Linked DNA regions of Homo sapiens: regions 1, 2 and 3 are each linked to region 4. The links are contacts of gene promoters, found by promoter capture Hi-C in human tissues and cell types (Jung and others, 2019). All regions are on one chromosome and are shown on one strand. Each heading gives the region's core, a stretch centred on a gene start or on the middle of the fragment in contact. The rest is flanking DNA. Distances are from core to core; before and after follow the strand shown. Region 1 holds the start of EIF2B2 (eukaryotic translation initiation factor 2B subunit beta). Region 2 overlaps PROX2 (prospero homeobox 2). Region 3 overlaps YLPM1 (YLP motif containing 1). Region 4 holds the start of ABCD4 (ATP binding cassette subfamily D member 4).

Evidence for each region. The method cuts DNA at HindIII sites, captures the fragments that hold promoters and counts their contacts. A contact is called where the count stands out against the background at its distance.
Region 1: a contact is called between the fragment with the promoter of EIF2B2 here and the fragment with the promoter of ABCD4 in region 4, in 1 of the 25 tissues and cell types used here (stomach).
Region 2: a contact is called between a fragment that was not itself captured here and the fragment with the promoter of ABCD4 in region 4, in 1 of the 25 tissues and cell types used here (aorta).
Region 3: a fragment that was not itself captured here is called in contact with the fragment with the promoter of ABCD4 in region 4 in 2 of the 25 tissues and cell types used here (heart right ventricle and mesenchymal stem cells).

What each region holds. Positions count from the first base shown.
Region 1 is chr14:75,001,621-75,004,320 of GRCh38, reverse strand. EIF2B2 (eukaryotic translation initiation factor 2B subunit beta) reads right to left here and starts at 1,400. Exons shown (of 8, transcript NM_014239.4): 1 at 1,168-1,400; 2 at 926-1,046; 3 at 622-770. The coding sequence starts at 1,330. RefSeq lists enhancers at 1,042-1,722, 1,764-1,853. The HindIII fragment of the contact is 11,364 bases long and covers 1-2,700 here.
Region 2 is chr14:74,860,233-74,862,932 of GRCh38, reverse strand. PROX2 (prospero homeobox 2) reads left to right here. Exons shown (of 6, transcript NM_001243007.2): 3 at 1-403. Among named protein-coding and RNA genes, the nearest start is that of PROX2, 15 kb to the left of the region's middle. The HindIII fragment of the contact is 3,852 bases long and covers 1-2,700 here.
Region 3 is chr14:74,824,793-74,827,492 of GRCh38, reverse strand. The region is part of intron 18 of YLPM1 (YLP motif containing 1); the gene reads right to left. Among named protein-coding and RNA genes, the nearest start is that of PROX2, 50 kb to the left of the region's middle. The HindIII fragment of the contact is 7,009 bases long and covers 1-2,700 here.
Region 4 is chr14:74,301,527-74,304,226 of GRCh38, reverse strand. It overlaps ABCD4 (ATP binding cassette subfamily D member 4), which reads left to right and starts at 1,293. Exons shown (of 19, transcript NM_005050.4): 1 at 1,293-1,352. The coding sequence starts at 1,315. It also overlaps a transcript of VRTN not described here. RefSeq lists an enhancer at 845-1,204 and a silencer at 1,465-1,544. The HindIII fragment of the contact is 36,493 bases long and covers 1-2,700 here.

The DNA.
Region 1 (2,700 bases), core at 151-2,650, 700 kb before region 4:
ACTACAGAGCTCCTTACAACTGATTTTGAAGACAGTAGATTCAGCCAAGGAATGGCAATCTGGGAAATCCTAAAGTGCTGAGAATAGGGTAAAGAGAGCTTCGGCCTAAAAGAAGTCTTCCTCCAAAAGGTGGCCACAACACTTCTACATGAGAGAGACTGGCCAGAGAAGAAAAAATGGGGGAGCAATTTGGAAGCAGCTTCTTCATCCTCTGATTACAATGAATATCTGCAAGTCACTTGGACCGCAATGACAAGGGGGATAGAAATGGTATACGTGTACGTGTGTATAAAAATTCAGATAGTGAAGGAGGTCTATCGACCTTGGCTCTCTAGGGAGTTCATTTTGTTTCTTTACAATGAAAATAAAACTCTGTCCTAATAGAGTCTGTTCCACTCCACAGATCTGTAGTCTATCAAGGGTTGGTCTGTAAGGAAAAGTAGAGAGGATTACTTTGGTCCTGTCACCTGTTGCAACATTTCCTAATCAGGAAGGAGGACAAACCTCTGAGAACCAGAAGACAGCTAATCTCCCATCTCTGCTAATGAACAACCTTCAGAGGCTTCTGTTCCCTTATGTGCCTGTGACCAGTCCCATTTTCCCAGCGATCAGGCCTCTTACCCAGCTCCACTAGCAGCTCATTAATCGCCTCAATGATGTTGGACTGGAGTTGGGCATAATGGAAGCTGAAATCCTCGTTTAGGCCTCCGGATGTCAACAGTTTGTGCAGGGACTCCTGCTGATCACTCTCGTCGCTGCGTCCATGGAGTCTATAGAGGCAACAAGACCCAAAGAGAGAGGTGGGGAGGAGTGGTCAGGCAGGTAACAAGGGCTGTTCAGCTCCAATAAAGTCTCCGAGCAGGTAGAGGGGCCCGTGCAAAAAGTGTCACTGGATCCAACCAGGAGCCCAGGACGTGAGCCTGACCTGCCATACTCCTCCCGGATAATCTTGAGCACTCTCCGCACCATGTTGCCCACGGTGGTCTCGGAGGGCTGAGCGGCCGTCATCCTCCTGCCCTCTCTGCGGATCAGCTCCATCAGCTCCCCTACAGTCCAAAAGAGAGAGGATAAGAGGAGCCAACGCGAAGTGAGGCCTGGGAAATTTTCAGCCCTGGGATCGGGAACAGACAGGGGCCAGGTTCGCCGGCGGAGGCAGGCCGGCCTCACCCGCGTTGCTCCAGCGGTGGTCCGTGATGATCTGGCGCAGCAACCCTAGGGTCTCCCGAGCCATTTCCTCGGAGCTGCGCGGCCCACCACCCCGCTTCAGGGTCTCCACGAAGCTCTCGATCCTCTCTGACAACTCCGAGCCCTTCGCTGCGGATCCCGGCATCTTTAAGGTAGCTGCCTTCAGCCTTCACCGGCGGAATCCACACCTGCCAGACCACACAGTTTGCACTTCCGGGGCGGGCGAGGTCGGCTTCCGCTGTGAGGGGATGGGGGGAAACCTCAAGTTTGAGTGGAAGCCGGCTACGCCCTTCGTTGCCGATCTCCCGCCCCCTTCCTCTGCCTGAGCCAATCAGAGACGTGGGGCTCGGGTTGTTCAGTTATAACCGGGCGTCCGCGCGCCCCCGCGCCTCGGGGGCTGGAGGATCGGAAGCGGCCTTTCTTGGCTCAGCCGACGGTGAACGGAAGTAACCCGTCAGGCCTGTAGAGGGTGGCTGGTCCCGTTGCTATGGGAGCAGCAAGTCTCTACGCGCCCCTCACCGCGACTTAAGGCTACACTGAAGAAGTTGCGGCACTCCCTCCTGTCTTCCCAGCTCGGTGACTGCCCGAGCTGTCACTCCCGAGTGTCAGCTGACACTGACGCTCTGAATGCATGTCCAGGGTCGGCTGCCCCTTGGGCAGACGTCTCACTTTTGTTCTGTTACATTGCTTGGTACCGTTTGCGCCTGTGTCTAGGAGGTTCATGTCTCTGAAAACAAGGACGATATCTTTTGTTGCTTTTGTATTCTCAAGGCCTAACACGTCTAACAGAAGACGGCGAAATTAGAGATGAGGAAGATTAAGGAGATTCAAAGTGGGAGCCAATACAGAAGCAAAGATGACATCCTCTGATTTGGACAGAATTGTCCTCCTACAGAGAGGCCAGAGAGTATAACATAATACCAAGAGTTACCATTTACTTAAAGCTTACTGGTTCTTGGGCACTGTGTGTGAATTGTCTCAGTTAATAAGGTCTGAAATAGGTCCTCTTATCCCCATTTTACAGATTGGGAAACAGACCCACAGAATTTAAGCAGTTAATAAAGGATTGGGTTCATACTTAAATCCAGGTCTACCTGAACCCAAAGTATGTGTGTAATAGAAATCTCTATTTCCTTAAGATAAATTCTTCAAAGTGGAATCCATAGGCGAGCACATTTTAGACTTTTGTTACAATTAACAAATTGCCCTCCAAAAAGATTATGTCAATACCAAAGTTAGCCAAAGGTAGTACAAAGAAAAGAAAATTACAGATTAATATCTCTCATGAACATAGAAGCAAAAATTGCAACAAATTATTAGCACATCAAATCCTGCAATACATAAAAAAAGAATAATATGTAATTACAAAGTGAAACATAAACCTGGAATGCAAAGCTGATTAAACACTTAAAAATCAATGTAATATGCCATATTAACAATCTGAGAAGTAAAACCACATGATCATGTCAATTGATGCAGGAAGAAACATTTGACAAAATTCAATATTCATGGTAC
Region 2 (2,700 bases), core at 194-2,693, 560 kb before region 4:
AAATTTATCACTGGCCAAGCGTCTAGATTCTCCTAGGTACCCTATCCCTCCAAGAATGACCCCCAAACCCTGTCAGGATCCCCCAGCAAACTTTCCCTTGACTGCACCTTCCCACATCCAGGAAAATCAGATTCTTAGCCAGCTACTGGGTCATAGATACAACAATGGCCATTGGAGTAGCAGTCCTCCCCAGGACTCATCTTCCCAGAGGCACCCCTCCTCAGAGCCTGCCCTACGACCTTGGAGAACTACTAAGCCGCAACCATTGGTCCTGAGCCAGCAGCAGTGTCCCTTGCCTTTCACCTCTGCCCATCTGGAAAGTCTACCCCTTCTTCCCTCGGTGAAGATGGAACAGAGAGGCCTGCATGCTGTCATGGAGGCACTGCCTTTCTCTTTGGTCCACATATCCTTTAATAGCAATTGAAGTTCTCATTGTTGGCCAGGTGCAGTGTGGCTCATGCTTGTAATCCCAGTGCTTTGGGAGGCCAAGGTGGGAGGATTACTTGAGGACAGGTGTTCAAGACTAGCCTGCACAACATAGCTAGACCCCATCTCTAAAAATAAAAAATTATCTGCACATGATGGCCCATGCCTGTAGTCCTACTCAGGAGGCTGAGGCAGGAGGATTGCTTGAGCCCGGGAGTTCGAGGTTACAGTGAGCTATGATTGCACCACTGCACTCCAGCTGGGCAACAGAGAGAGACAATGTTTCAATAAATAATTTAAAATACCATTGACACTGTGCAGAGAAACAAGAAAACTAAAAGTTGAAGAGGAGCTGGGGACAGATCACTCAGGGTCTTCTTAATGTTGCTCTGGGCCTTCAGCTTATAGTGGTGACCACATTCTGGAATTTAAGGACCTGGGAAGGTTCACTTAGCTTCTTCTATGACCCATCGGGTTCTGCCACTTGACTTATTCCTTTGGGTCTAAAAGGGTTTTGTTTTGAGACTCAAATAGGCTTCTGAAATACAATGAATACCCTAAGGAAGAAAGAATCCATAATTTGGTTGTCAGCCACCCATAAACTTAGGAGGAGAGGGTCAAAGGAATGACGTCATCTAAGGTATGGCCTCCCCAACCCCATAGCTCTACAAGCAAAAATCCTATATTGTGTAGATAATTCCTGGGGAGCAGATGAGGAACAAGAAACTTCTGGGCCAAATGGAAAAGGAGTTTTCCTCGGGGATTAAACCCAGAGAGGTGGCTGGAAACGGCCAGAGGTCTCCAGTTTAAGGAACAACTTCCAAGGTGCAATGGAGTGCCTGGAGACTAGGGGCTGGGCATATGAAGGGAGAGGAGGCTCCCCATGAGGAGGCCTGAGTGGCCCAGGCTGATCTGCAGGGCTCTGGATCTTATTGCATCATCTTTGCAACCCTTAAGTAGACACTACTCTCTTAATGTATTTCCCAGAGTAACCCTCGGGATATTAATAATTGTTGAGTTAGAAGAAAAAGTACCTTGGGGAAATACTGAGATAGTTTCTTTTCTGCAGGAATTCTCAGAGCCTTTAACATGAGTAAATGGAAGCTCTAAGAGGAGAATGTACACAGCCCCAAACCCATATGACCACTTCTAACAAGCATCTTGCAGAACTTAAGTTCTTGAGAATATATTTTGGATGTTGCTTTTTAAGCTAGCTGTGCTCACGCTGCTGCTTCTTGTGTGCAGCTTTGAGGGGAATCTCCAGAAGCTGATGAGTCTATGGAGTTGCATATCCAGGTGGGAACAGTCGTGTCCTTTGCCTGGCAACTACTGTGAGGGCAGCAGGATGGGGTGGGACCAGCTCATTACCATGCCAGAACCTGCCTTTGTGTCCTAAATGCCATGAGCGCCCCCTGCCGGTCAAAAGTGTTGGAAACACCCCAAAGCTTTCCTGGAAGTTAGCGAGCAACTGTAAAACCAATGCTGAGAACACTTCACTTGCCACCACTCTTGGAGGCAGAGATTCCACCATAGACAGATTTTCTTTATAAGAAAGGCTACCTGTCTGGGCCTTTGATAACCACTAGTTGACTCTCCATTAAATTCAGACAGCTGCAAAAACACCTCAGTCTCCCAGAATTTGCTATTTGTTGAGCACCTACATGTGCCTGTTCCTGCCCCCTAAATTGGGGATTGGGCTCAGAGAGCTTCTGGAGGTTTGGGGCCTATCCTAAGAAATACCTAAGCCAGGACTGGCTGCATGGGTGAAGTACTTGACTATCTTTGGAATGACTTGGGACCCCCTAGCAGCACCCTGGCCCCTCAACTCTTCCCTCATTCCTGCTGCCTATATTCCAAGAGATTTATTCCTGTGGGCCATGAAAGCCACCTGAGAGCAAGCTGCTTTACAGCATAAAAAGAACGTTCACATTCACATGACATCCTGTGACATAGGTAGGGCAGATGTGAAGATCACGAGGGGAGCATTGACAGAACACCTTCTCGGTGGCAGGCATTGCTACCAGCACTTCACACATATGTGCCCACCACCACTTAGCTACAATTCTGAAACCCATAAAGCTTTGACAGGCCCTATGATTTTCCCCCCCTAAGAATGATGCAATCTTTTTTTTTTGGTAGCAAAACCTGGCTTGCACTGATTGGAGGCTATTAATAGATTTTATCCCACTTAGTATAGTCATACGTTCTGCTGCAGAAATGTTAATGTATTGGATTATACACTGTCTCAGCTGTGGATGTTAATTAATGTGTGGT
Region 3 (2,700 bases), core at 67-2,566, 520 kb before region 4:
GCATGTATTTCTAGTCTGAGCACCCTTTTTGAAATGTTTAATTTGAAATTTTATTGTGCAAATATGTTTAAAGTTTCCTTCTTGGGCTGAAGAAAGGCTCACACCTCTTCCACATGGCATACTGGAAACCAAACACACAGATGGATGGCATAAGGTGAGGGGAAAGAAATCTGGGGTGTTAATTACAGAATAAAGACTGGTGTTCAATACATGCACACTAATGATTTTCAGAGATTTCAAAAGATGAAGTTTTAAGATGAAGATGAAGTTTTAAATCCAATATGGCAGGTCACAGAATTTTACCACATATTTGAAACAGTATGTATTATAGCACAACAGAAAAATTCCTTAGATACATCTATGTATTTTCTAAATGTAAATGGTATTTCTGAAAATCTGTTCAACGTAAACATACAAGATTATGCACCTATACAAATAATAATTATATTCCAACTCTGAAGAGATGAATCTGTCTGACATGTAGAAAACCAATATACAACTCAAGAGTAGAGACAAATGACACTGAGATGAGAAAAGCAAAAGTACTTTATATGAAGAAACCTAAATTAGGATGGTAACAGTCTCAAATATTCTAGCTTCACAGTATGAGAAACTAAAATCATGTCACTGGAGTTTAAGTAGCTTCAATGCTGAATCCCACCACCTGATGTGGCAAGTAACAACCTGCCCTTGCATTATGATGCCTGTGTCCCAGCAGGGAAGAACCAGTCTGGTGGGACTGAAGGTGGGCCACAGGCAGCCTTCAACAACTCCATGCCAGAGGTAGCTCAGGCCTGTTCTGAACTGTTCTAAAAATCACATCACTTCCAATTTAACATTCAGGCACAGGCTGAACTGTGTACTAAACTTAATGAGCATAGACCAAGAATCTGCAATAAGCTCTAACCAGCTGCTTCAAAGACTATAGGTAAGTATGTTCTCACTGGCAGACTCATTTGTGAATCAAAATTCCTCTGTTTCAGATTCAACTGTTTTTGCTCAACATGTGACACTGCTAAAACTTAATACATTTCCACCCAGTATAATCATTTTCCAAGAGTAATTGGAGAATGTTGGTAAAGTACTCAGAAAAATAAATTGTACTTGGTAATCAAATTATATTAAATTTGTTATGATAAGGAAGGCAACATAAATAGGCTACAAGATCCGACACAAGATCCTCATGTTTTAGAGAAGAATCTTCTCAGTTGGCTCAATGGACCAACCTCAAAGTACTAAGCACTTTCAAGAATGCACACTAAATTTGCCTTCCTCTGTGGTGGGATTAGCTCTCAATACAGTGGTGCAAGATACAAGTCCTTATATACAACATCACTATCACTCTTGTTAAAAAATAAAAACCCGACTGTAAATATGTTAAAATTTATTTCCTAGATTTATTACCAGATCTTCAGTGCCTTTCACTGAAATGGTTTGTTTTAAAAATCCATTTCTGGAATTCATTGTCTACTATTCTGTCTTTAAAACTGAAAATTTGTATAAAATGTTTTTTTCTGAGAAGCAAATGGTAGACGGGCCAGAATGTTTTCCAGAAATTCCAAGAAATACCAATATTAATATATATTCTTGAATAATCATCACAACTAAATTCCCTTTTCCTTTTAAAAACAGAAAGAAAAGTAAAAGATGGACTGGCTTGAGTTTAAAACAGCATTACCCCAGATCATGTATTACATGAGGCCTCTAGAGATTACAAGTTAATATTTATCACTTTTACATTCCCCTTAACTATCTTTATTTATGATCTCTCTTTGCCCTAAAGGATAATCAATATTTAAGAGAACCAGAAGAGAGAAATGATCTTGGCATATTATGGGTCATTCTAATGTACAGAACTTCACAGAGAGTTAATCTAACGTCGAAATAAGCAGAACTAAAGCATTATTATTATTTTAAAAGTATTTTGTAATTTTTATTTTCCTACATATTTAATTGCATTTAAACACATAAGTGCTTTAAGGGTCTCTGGAAGATGACAATTGGTTATTATTAAGATTTCCCACAGAGGGAAGACTACTAGAAGAATATGTCAAAAACCACATATAATTTTCACATGACATAAACTAAAAAAAATCTTTTAGACTTGACAACAAAGCACCTATACCAGTAATGTAATAATAAAGTCCGTGGAACTGTCTTTTAACACAGAACCTAGTCAATACCAACTACTAACACAAGTAGTTGGGGCAAATTAAAGGCACAACTTATGTAATTGCATGTAAAATGCACTCCTCTGATGTCAGAAACACATGTCCCAAGCAATGAAGCAGCTCAGTGACTCAAACTTCCTGTATCAATTTAAGATACTTAGATGGTTCCTTTAGTTTTGGAGTATAATACCAGGAAAAGAAACATAAACTGACAGTCATACTTCATACATCAGTAAGGCTGATCTCAAAAAGTCCTTAGCACATTGTTTTAGATTTTTATTAATACATCTTAATCAACATGTTAAATGGTTCTCTTTAAGCGAAGTAAAACTGAAAAAATATTTTGCAGTTTTCACCAACAAATAATAGAGGGAATCCATTGGATATGTATGACTTTTTTGTTTGACAGATAACTTCACATTAAGCAACTCCAAATTCTGATTTAGACAATCATTTAAACTGGTTTACCTTGGAATTTGGCATTAACAATTTGAAGAAAAATTTAAACTGAATCTTATAAAGCAGGCTC
Region 4 (2,700 bases), core at 44-2,543:
CAAGATAGCACCATTGCACTCCAGCCTGAGCCACAAGAGCGAAACTCCGTCTAAAACAAAAACAAAAACAAAAAAAGGCCAGGAGCGGTGGCTCACTCTTGTAATCCCAACACTTTGGAAAGCCAAGGCGGGCAGATCACCTGAGGTTAGGAGTTCAAGACCAGCCTGACCAATATGGAGAAACCCTGTCTCTACTAAAAATACTAAATTAGCTGGGCGTGGTGGCACATGCCTGTAATCCTAGCTACTCGGGAGGCTGAGGCAGGAGGATGGCTTCAATCCGGGAGGCTGAGGTTGCCGTGAGCCGATATCGCGCCATTGCACTCTAGCCGGGGCAACAAAAGCAACACTCCGTATCAAAAAAAAAAAAAAAAAAAAAAAAATCTGTAATTGTCAACTGATTGACCTACCCAGCTAGACTGCAACTTTCATAAAGACAAGTGATACATGCATGTTGTAGAGTGTTTGGCTTGCAGTTGAAACTTAATAAGGATTGGAGGAAAGTGAGAAGACACATCCAGATTCAAATTTAGGGACCTGTGGGATCATGCTGTTTGGGTTTTTTTTGAGCCATTTCCCACCTCCCTTTGGGTACTAATCAGTCAACTGATAAGCATTTCATTCATTCAACTATCTATCTTATCTATCGATCATTATCATCTATTTATTTGTTTTTGAGACAGGGTCTCTCTTTGTCGCCCAGGCTGGAGTGCAGTGGCACAGTCACGGCTCACTGCAGCCTTGACCTTCCGGGCCCAAGTGATTCTCCTGCCTCAGCCTCCAGAGTAGCTCGGACCACAGGCGCTCGCCACCATCCCCGGCTAATGCTTTTGTCTTTTGTAAAGGCGGGGTCTTGCCATGTTGCCCAGGCTGGTCTTGAATTCCTGGGCTCAAGCGATCCTCCCGCCTTGGCCTTCCAAAGTGCTGGGATTACAGGAGTAACCCACCGGGCCCGGCTGGAAGCCTAATTTATACTTTTTTAAAGATCATGCTGGCTTCTCTGGGAGAATATGTAAAACATCTATTATACACAGAATCTAAAATACTTGCCATAAAGTAGTTACACTCTCGGATACCTATTGTCAAAAGGGAAGTCTCCCAGAAAATATGGGGGCGCTGTAGCCGCCGGGTCAGCCGAGTCCACTCTCTGGTACTTTTAGAGACGTCGGTCGCTTCCGGGAGAGTCCGCGTCTCCCGCACCTTCCTCTCTATCAAACGCCGTCTCTGTGGTAGCCGGGGCCCCGCCCCTCCTCGGACTCTACCCAGTACTGAACTAGGGGCAGCTGGGCTCCAGAGTCCCTCGGGTCTCAGGTCATGGCGGTCGCGGGGCCCGCGCCCGGAGCTGGCGCCAGGTAAGCAGGGCGGTCGGGGAGGAGGTTTGGGAGCAGGAGTTCCGGGCTGTAGGGAATGGGCTTTCCTGCCCTCCGTGCCTCGTCCGCCGCCCTGGCGCCCCCGTCTCGCCCCCGTGACTTCTGAGAGAAAGAGGAGCTCTCGAAGGGGCGTCCGCCCTCCCGCCGCTCTAGGCCGCTCCGCACCGGCCGCGGCCCCCTCCGTTCTTGGCCGGACTTGTGCCATCTCCTGCGGTGTGGGACCCTCACCCTCGCAACTGGCATTCTTTTTTTGAAAAGAAGAACCTCAGGTGCACAAAATTGAGTTGATCCTTCTCAGTTCTTGACACCCTGTGGGCCAATGCAAGGCTCCTTGTTTATTTTATCACTTCCTCTCTTCGTTCCTATTCCCAGACCCCTTTCACTCCCCTTTTCAGACAGCCACTCTGGTGTGTTATATAAGTGGCTTTACGGTCCACCTTGGGTAAATTTGTGCAAGTGTTACTTTGAAATCTATATAGCGGTTTCGAATTCTTCAATATAATATGCTGTGATTTTTCTTTAAACCTTTTTCCTCAACATTGTGTTTTTGAGTCCATCCATGCTAGTCATCTTGTTTTCACTTCTGAGTGCTTGCATGAGGGGTGCTGTGTGCATAGACTTATTCCCCTAGTGGTGGATAGATTTTTTTCTAGTATTAACACCCCCACAAGCCACACTGTAACGAATATTCTGGCAGTTGTCTCCTTGTGCATATTGTTGCATTTCTCTGGGTATCCACCCCAGAGTTGGGTCCTGGTCATATCTAATTTTGCTGGATTGTTCTTTGGAATGGTCACACTAGTTTATACTTCCCGACGGGCAGTGCATAAAGCTTCCTGTTTCCCGGTATCCCTCCATCGTTCAGTGGCGGCTGGTTTTGTAATGTTTATCAGTCTGGGGGGTGTAAGGTGGTATCCCATCGTGTACATTTTCTTTCTTTCTTTCTTTCTTTCTTTTGAGACGGAGTTTTGCTCTTGTTGCTCGGGCAGGAATGCAGTGGCATGATCTCGGCTCACTGCAACCTCCGCCTCGGGTTCAAGCGATTCTTCTGCCTCAGCCTCCTGAGTAGCTGGGATTACAGACGCGCGCCACCACACCCAGCTAATTTTTTGTATTTTTAGCAAAGATGGGGGGGTTGGCCAGTCTGGTCTTGAACTCCTGACCTCAGGTGATCCACCCGCCTCGGCCTCCCGAAGTGCAGGGATTACACTTCCCGACGGGCAGTGCATAAAGGAATTACAGACGTGAGCCACTGCTCCCGGCCTACATTTTCATGTGTTTATTAAACGTGGGTTTTCCCTTTTTTGAATTGCCTGTTTATATCCCTTCC